Linked DNA regions of Homo sapiens: region 1 is linked to region 2. Evidence: promoter capture Hi-C in 16 types of primary human blood cells and fetal thymus (Javierre and others, 2016). All regions are on one chromosome and are shown on one strand. The core of a region is centred on a gene start or on the middle of the fragment in contact, and the rest is flanking DNA. Distances in the headings are between cores, read along the strand shown. Region 1 overlaps SPTLC3 (serine palmitoyltransferase long chain base subunit 3). Region 2 holds the start of TASP1 (taspase 1).

The links. Contacts are between HindIII fragments. The CHiCAGO score rates a contact against its expected background, and 5 or more counts as called.
Region 1: a fragment that was not itself captured here is called in contact with the fragment with the promoter of TASP1 in region 2 in 1 of 17 cell types (total CD4 T cells); the score reaches 6.4 in total CD4 T cells.

Annotation. Positions count from the first base shown.
Region 1 is chr20:13,142,380-13,146,918 of GRCh38, reverse strand. All of the region lies in intron 9 of SPTLC3 (serine palmitoyltransferase long chain base subunit 3), which reads right to left. It also overlaps a transcript of TASP1 not described here. Among named protein-coding and RNA genes, the nearest start is that of ISM1, 77 kb to the left of the region's middle. The HindIII fragment of the contact is 6,662 bases long and covers 1-4,539 here.
Region 2 is chr20:13,637,301-13,641,773 of GRCh38, reverse strand. It overlaps TASP1 (taspase 1), which reads left to right and starts at 2,842. Exons shown (of 14, transcript NM_017714.3): 1 at 2,842-2,880. RefSeq lists a silencer at 2,942-3,091 and enhancers at 3,282-3,371, 2,985-3,485. The HindIII fragment of the contact is 10,129 bases long and covers 1,719-4,473 here.

The DNA of each region.
Region 1 (4,539 bases), core at 1,677-4,176, 490 kb after region 2:
TCATGAAGGCATTACGCAGCTGACCTGGAAATTGGCAGTGCCTAGGAGATTATCAAAGTTGGCTCTTTGGAAAAACTGGTAAACTCGCTCATGATGAGGCGTGAATTCCATCATTCACGGAGTTATACACTTCACAAATGAAAAGTACTCACTATGTACAGGAGCAAGGCCAGCTGCTGAGGTGGCAATAGAAGATGAAAAATTTCTGACACTGTTTGGAACAAATGATCTAACAGGAGGCAAGGCAGATATCAAATAATATATAACCAAAAATAGGTGCCATGAGACAGATGTAGACATTTGCATAGTATTATTGCTTCCTGAATACTTATAAAATGAATGATAAGATATAATATTACTTTGCATTTAAATAGAGAGTAATATTTTAGCAAGCCATTAATTATGTAATTTTACACATTAAATGAGCTAATATGGGAAGCTGAGGGCCTTCTGGGAACCCTTGTAAATCAGTGATTCTTTTTTTTAATTTTAATTTTAGGTTTCGGGGTACATGTGAAGATTTGTTACATAGGTAAACACGTGTCGTGGGGGTTTGTTGTACATATTATCTCATCAGCCAGGTGTTAAGCCCAGTACAATAGTTCTCTCTTCTGCTCCTCTCCCTCCTCCCACCCTCCTCCCTCAAGCAGATCCCAGTGTCTGTTGTTTCCTTCTTTGTGTTCATAAGTTCTTATCATTTACCTCCCACCTATAAGTAAGAACATGTGGTATTTGGTTTTATGTTCCTGTGTTAGTTTGCTAAGGAGAATAGCCTCCAGCTCCATCCATGTTCCTGCAAAAGACATGATCTTGTTCTTTCTTATGGCTGCATAGTATTCCATGGTGTATATGTACCAAATTTTCTTTATTCAGTCTGTCATTGATAAGGATTTAGGTTGATTCCATGTCTTTGCTATTGTGAATAGTGCTGCAAGGAACATTCGCATGCATGTGGCTTTATGGCAGAATTATTTATATTTGTCCCTATTTAATAAATGATGCTGATTATTTATTAAATAGGGAGTCCTTTCCCCATTACTTGTTTTTGTCAAGTTTGTTGAAGATCAGATGGTTGAAGATATGCAGTCTTATTTCTGAGCACTCTATTCTGTTCCATTGGTCTATGTGCCTGTTTTCTTACCAGTATCATGCTGTTTTGGTTGCTGTAGCCTTGTAGTATAGTGTGAAGTTGGGTAACATGATGCCTCCAGCTTTGTTCTTTTTACTTAGGATTGCCTTGGCTATTTGTGCTCTTTTTTGGTTCCATATGAATTTTAAAATCTTTTTTTTTCTAGTTTTGTAAAGAATGTCATTGGTAGTTTGATGGGCATAGAACTGAATCTGTAAATTGCTTTGGGCAGTATAGCCATTTTAATGATGTTGATTCTTCCTATCCATGAACATGGAATATTTTTCCATTTGTTTGTGTCTTCTCTGGTTTCTTTGAACAGTGTTTTGTAATTTTCATTGTAGAGATCTTTCACCTCTCTGGTTAGCTCTATTCCAAGGTATTTTATTCTTTTTGTGGCAATTGTGAATGGGATTCTTTTCTAATTTGGCTCTCAGTTTTGCTGTTGTTGGTGTATAGAAATGCTAGTGATTTTAGTACATTGATTTTGTTTCCTGCAACTTTGCTGAAGTCGTTTATCAGCTGAGGGGCTTTGGGGCCAGTACTATGGGGTTTTCTAGATATATATAATCATGTTGTCTGCAGAGATAGTTTGACTTCCTCTCTTCCTATTTGGGTGCCCTTTATTTCTTTCTCTTGCCTCAAAATCAGTGATTCTTAACCAGAGAAACACATCAGGGTTTCTAGAATTTTTTTTTCAAGAATACACATAGTAGGCCAGGTGCGGTGGCTCACACCTGTAATCCCAGCACTTTGGGAGGCTGAGGCAGGTGGATCACAAGGTCAGGAGCTCAAGACCATCCTGGCTAACATGGTGAAACCCTGTGTCTACTAAAAATACAAAAAAATTAGCTGGGCGTGGTGGCGGGTGCCTGTAGTCCCAGCTACTTGGGAGGCTGAGGCAGGAGAATGGTGTGAACCTGGGAGGCGGAGCTTGCAGTGAGCCAAGATTGCGCCACTGCACTCCAGCCTGGGCGACAGAGCGAGACTCCGTCTCAAAAAAATCTGTGTATATATATATACACACACACACACATAGTAGACCTCCCTCTGCAGACATTCTGCTCCAGAAGGACTAGGTTGGACCTTTCAGAAAAACTCACTGGGTAACTGTGGTGTGTACCTCCAGTTAAGAACCACTGCTGAAAGTAACAAATTATATAGTGTTTGTTGATTCTCTAAAAATAATGATTGATAATAACTGAAGACACCAGAGAATAATTCAGCCTCAAGAAATTTTTGTCCTCAGTCAATAGATTTGTGCGTTAGGTTCTATCTGCCTCTATATCTATAGAGATGAGCAAGTCACTCATCATCTCTGAGCCTCAATTTACTGATCTGTTAAATGGGGATGATAGTAATAGCTACTACATCTATTTCTCAGGACTTCTGGGAGGATGATTGATTCAGCATCTACTTACTTAGTACCTATTATTTGTAAGTGGCTGTTGTGTTCAGTGGAAGATTAAAATATCAGTGTGTCCACTATTTTCAAGGGTCTTATAAACTAGAAAAATTAATCACAACAAGATAGAAAATCAAGTGCCCAATAAAAGAAGTGCTCTGAGAGTTTGAAGGAGACCTAGAGATGGTAACTTAACATCTTGTGGACACAAGTTTGGGGATGGGGAGGAAAGGGATGAGTACTTGCCTAGAATGTTTGGATTCCAGTCATGGGAAAGATCAGTAGAGTTAGATCATCATAAGCTAAAAATGCCACCTTGAGAGTCACAATTTTTTGATGGGTATTAGAGAGCCCTGGAAGCATTGTAAGTAAACATGACATGCTCTGAGGGGGTTAGGAAGACAAAGCTCATAGTGTATAGTGCATGGATCAGGATGAGGGAAAAGCTGGAGGTAGCAAGACTAGTCAGGAAGCCAAGGTGGCAGCAAATGTCTGAAATGGGCGAGGAGCTGTGTCGACAACTGTTCCAATTTGTGGCAAGAAGACAAAGGAATTGGCAAAAGACAGATACTAGGCTGAGTAATTGTGTTAATGTGGTTCCTTGAAAGGGCTCTGAGAAACCGTGCAAATGAAGGTGGCCACCAGGAAGCCCCATCCAAGGCAGCTGCCTGCAGAATTAAAACCTTTTGGTTTCCAGAGCTTTGCTAGGGTAGGATGCACTGAACAGGCCTCAGGGAGGAGGGTATGGGGAAAAATTGATGGGGAAGCCCCCCAGACTTTTGCCTTGTGCCCAGGACAATGACTTCTCAGCCAAGCACTCAAACAGTATGAAGCCAATTTGCTGGGTTCAAAGTAAACTCTACCATCTTGGGCAAGGTACTTCCTCTTTCTGAGACCTGGATTCTTCATTGTAAAATGGGAATCATGACAAGGATAATAATAATAATGCCCACTGCATACTGTTATGAGGATTAAATATTAAGCAGTTAGTAGGGTGTCTGACATAACTTGAGTGCTACAGAATATATATATATACTTTCATACACATTTATTTGAAAAATTCTATGGTTCACAAATATTGAAAACTATTAATTTGAACCAAAGACTGGACTCACTGACTTGGATTTGCTCTCTAAAACTGGGTCCCTCTTGTCTACATAACTGACCTGCGGCACCTACAGCCAACCTGGCCATCCCGGTCTCCTTCTTGGTCTTTTTGGTGCCCAAGACATGTCCTCCATATATTCCTATTTTTAAGAATTACATGTTTATCAGAATAATTTCATTCTCAGTGCTCAAGTTGAAGCAGATGATCACAGAGAATTTAACTACATAAAGTCCTCCTATTTTACAAAGGGCACAAAACTTCAGAGATGTTCACCAGTAATGAAGTCCTAATTAAGAGAGCCCTGATTAGGTCTTAGCTACAGGTGAACATCTCTGAAGTTTTAAAAGAGATTCAAAGAGAGAGAGAGAGGCGGGGTATTTGATGTGAGGGAGACTCTCCGTTGCTGGCTTTGAAGATGGAGGGGCCCTCATGAGACGGAAACAGCCACCAGAAGCTGAGAGTGTTCCCATTGACAGCCAGAGAGGAAATGGGATCTCAGTCCTACAGCCCCAAAAGACTGGATTCTGGCACAGCCATGTGAGCTTGGAGGAGGTGCCTGAGCTCCAGATAAAACAGCAGCTGCTGACACCTTGATTTCAGCATTATGAGAACCTGAGCAGAGAATACACTGTGCCCAGACTCCTGACCCAAGGAAACTGATATATTCAATGGTCACTAAGTTTGTGGTAATTCGTAATGTAGAAATAGAAAGCAAATACAATCTCTCTAGCCCAGACCCACACACTGGGATTCCTCAGGCACAAATCCACCTGCCTAATCCTCCCCAGCTGTAGGAAGGAAAAACAAAGGCCAGTGTGGAATACCAGTTCCCCTTTACCCTGGAAGATGCTACAGATGGAATAATGTTCTTTCCTTTCCCACTTGTACTGAACCAAC
Region 2 (4,473 bases), core at 1,593-4,092:
CAATCACCTGAATGAGCTTGGAGAATCGCTCTGGGCATCCGATGAGATGGCAGCTCTGACTGACACCTTGATTTCAGCCTTCTGAGATCTGAGCAGAGACCTGGACACCTGATCCACAGAAACGGAAATATTACATTTGTGTTGTCTTAAGCAGGTGAATTGGTGTTAACTTGCGGCACAACAATTGAAAACTATCACTATTGTTCTGCTACATTTCTGACACATGTGTTAAAGCAATAGTTTTCCAGGAATACAAAACAAAGGGAGACCCCCAGGGAACCAGGACAGAGGGGGCTTACTTAGAGTACAAAGATCAAGATGCAGCAGACATGATTATTTGAGATAAAGGAAGTAATTCCTCAGCTTGCTGCTTTTCCGGGTTTGGGAGAGGTGGGAACAGGAAGAGGGAGGCAACCAGATTTTTTCTGAAGGAGATTTACTAGTATAGACTTTCCTTTCAAATTTAACATGTTGAGTTAATCAAATAGATATTACAACTGTTCGTTATTAATATTTCAAAGGATCTCATTGTTACTGTACCCAATGCAGGTTAAAAATGTTAAAACTTGGGTCTGGGCTGGGCATGGTGGTTCATGCCTGTAATCCCAGCACTTTGGGAGGCCGAGATGGGTGGATCACCTAAGGTCAGGAGCTCGAGACCAGCCTGGCCAGCATGACAAAACCCCATCTTTACTAAAAAGACAAAAATTAGCCGGGCGTGGTCACGGGCACCTGTAATCCCAGCCACTGGGGAGGCTGAGGCAGGAGAATCACTTGAACCGGGGAGGCAGAGGTTGCAGTGAGCTGAGATCGCACCACTGCATTCTAGCCTGGGCAACAGAGTGAGACTCTGCCTCAATAATAATAATAAAAAAAAGGGTCCGAAGAATTTTGTTACTTTTACTTGAGCAGTATTCACCTACCAGAGGATGGCCTGTGTGGCATCTGGGTGTGATACCCAAGACAAAAGTATACAGAGCAGCACTGGGAGATGATTATTACAATGTAGTTAAATTCCAGGAAGAATGTTGCCTAAGAAATGGAAGGGAGCATGTCTATGTCTTTTTAAAACTTTAACATCTTTCTTTTATTCCTGCTGGTTCCAGTTAATATTGCTGTGTAAAAATCCACTTTAAAGGTGCAAAAGAACAACTATTTTATTATGCTGATGGATTCTGCGGGTGAGGAATTCAGAAAGGTCACAATGGGGATGGTTTATGTCTGCTTCCTAATGCCTGGGCCAAACTTTCTGGCACTATATAACAAGGGCCCCATTTTCTCCAGCTTCCAATAACATCTTCCTTAGCTCCCTTTAAGCCCTCATTGGCAGCTTCCTCAAGTCCTTTTAGACTCTTGTTAATACTTTGGATCCCTTCCTGCTCTTGCTGCTTCACCTAGTTCCAAAGCCAGTGCCACACGTTTTACTTTTATGATGTTATTATGTTATGTTTTGTTATAATATCCATCCTACTTCTAGGTAACAAAATCGGTTTCAGTTACTATTGCTATGTAATAAACTGTTATTCTTACTATGTAATAAACTTCTTCCCCTTGCCCCTCCCTAAGAAGTCAGTGGTAGAAGAGAAAGAAAAAAAGCCCCAAGTTACATAATAAAACCACATAGGTTATATTTATAATAATGGTATCAGTGGTTCTCGAACTTTTTGGTTTCAGCATACCTTTATACTCCCCAAAATAGTAGAGAACACTCCAAAGCTTTTGTTTCTGTGGGTTACATCTATTAATATTTACTATATTAAAAATTGAATACAAAGCTGAAATGTGGCTGGGTGCGGTGGCTCACGCCAGTAATCCCAGAACTTTGGGAGGCCAAGGCAGTAGGATCACCTGAGGTCAGGAGTTCGAGACCAGCATGGCAAACATGGTGAAAACCCGTCTCTACTAAAAATACAAAAAATTAGTCGGGTGTGTATCGAGCGCCTGTAATCCCAGCTACTCAGGAGTCTGAGGCAGGAGAATCGCTTGAGCCCGGGAGGCAGAGGTTGCAGTGAGCCGAGATCGTGCCATTGCACTCCAGCCTGGTTGACAGAGTGAAACTCCATCTCCAAAAAAAAAAGAAAAAAACCAACAAAAAACTGAAATGTTAAAAAGTTATTTAAAATAACAATAATAAACCATTATGTGTTAATATAATTAAGACATTTTAATGAAGAATAAATATTTTCCAAAAACAAAAAAATGTGGTAAGAAAAGTGTTATCTTTTGCATTAGTGTAAATTCCTCTATAGCTGGCTTAAAGAAGCCAGTTAGATTCTCATTTCTGCCTTTACATTCAGTTCGACGTGATGTTTTGGTGGAAGTATAAGGAAAATCCATCAGTCATGGGTCATCAAAACCCATGACTGGGTTTCGGTCTTACATCCTAGCCGATAAAAGACCGCCTACACTCCTTCCCCCTGGGCAAGGCTCGTGCCCCAACTCCTACAAGCAATGCAGGCTGAACCTTAGTTTTCCCTACCGTCTAACAGTGCTCTAAGGATTGAAAGAAAGTAACTCTTAAGCGACACCTAGATAAAATGATGGTCAGTTTAATTTCATTTCTCATCACAGTATTAGTCAATCAACCACTCAGATATAATCACATCCTGCGGGCTTATTCAGGGGCGGGGTGGGTAGAGATAAGCAATAGCGCATGCGCAGCTCAGAACGAAGCCCCAGGTGGAGTTAGCGCTGCACCTCTGAGGCCAGGTGAGCCGCTCCGAAGCGGAGGGCGGAGTCAGAGCCGCTTGTGGGAGGCTGCTTCCGACCACGTGGTACCCCGAATGACCAATGGGGAGACTTGATGTCAGCCCCGCTTCCTCACCCTGGCAACGGGCGGGTGACTACTTCCGGTGCAGTGAAGGCTCGGGGCTGAAGCGGGTGAGTGTCCCTCTTTCCCACGCTGTCCGCGCCGCTGCCGCCTCCGCGCTGCTGCCTCTGTGTGTGGGCCCCGTACGCTAGCTGGGACGTCCTCTCCGGGTCCGAGAGGGGGCGGCGCGCAGGACACCCCTTGCCCCGGGCGGGGCTAGAGGAGGGGGCCAGGATGTCCCTAGTTCCCTAGTCTTGGTCGCTCTAGGCGGCCCCGTCGTCCCCCTTCCCAGCCTCATCTCCGGCTTGGCGTCCTCGTGGCCACCGGGGAAGTACTGTCTGTATGTGGGGAGTTCTCGCAGTTCTTCACCCACTTTGCAGTCTCAGGCTGGAGATGTCTCAGAGTCCGAGGTTCGCAGACAGCCGAGAATGTGCGCCTTGTCCTGGGTGGCGGGTTGGGGGTAAGGCAGCCCCTTACTTAGTAATAGAGGCCTGATGAGAGTCCTGCGGGTCGTTAGCACTTACTACTCAGGGGGAGGAGGAGGAGGAAGAAGAGGAGGAGGAAAGGACCGAGAAGATGGAGCAGCTGGAGAGGAGGGGGGGAAAGCAGGAGCTAGAGATGTCCTGGAAATCGAGGGTATCGTGTTTCCGGAAGGAGAGAGTTCAACTTTCCTGGCTTCTGTAGGGGAGGGGAAGGAAAGGTGTGTTAGGGGCCATTAGATTGCTGAATTATTATTATTCTTTATTAGCGAAGGAATTTTTACTTATATTCTTAGGAGTTTAATAATTTATCTTTTTTGTTGTAAATAAAACTTTTCCCCACCACTTACAAAAAGCAGTGCTTACTAAGGAACATCTGGAAAATGCAGAAATAGTTATGAAGAGATCACCTATAGTTCTGCCAACCCAGCATTTTGATCTTTTTTCTAATATTTTATTCATATTAACCTATTTGTGATCATAATGTATGCGTGTAAAATACGGTTATAACTAAGAGGCATAGTTACATACATTGTGTTCATTGCACGGATAGATTGTCTTTTTTCCTCTTGAGAAAGTCTTATTAAGGTATTCATGCACCATAAAATTTATTCTTTAAAATTGTAAATTTCAGTGCTTTTTCTCATATCGCAAAGTTGTGCACCCATCACCACTATCTACTTTCAGAACATTTTCATCACCCCCAAAAGAAATCCTATACTCATGACAGTCACTCCCCATTAGATTCTCTGCTTTCTCTCCCAGGCCTTGTAACCACTAATCTACTTTCTGTATCTATGGATTTTCCTATACTGGCATTTCATATAAATGGAATCATAGAATATATGGCCTCACTTGTCTGGTGTCTTTCAGTTAGTATGTTTTCAAGGTTCATCAATGTCTGTGTATCAGTATTTCATTCTGTTTTATGGATGGGTAATGTTCCATTGTGTGAATATGCCACATTTTGCTTAACCATCATCGGTCGATGGACATTTAGGTTGTTTCTACTTTTTGGCTATTTTGAATAATTCTGCTATAAACATCTGTGTACAAGTTTTTGTATGGACATACGTTTTCAGTTCTCTTGAGTATATACCTAGAAGTGGAATTGGTGGGCATATGGTAACTCTATGTTTAACTTTTTGAGTGAGTGCCAAATGTTTTCCAAACTGGTTGCACCAT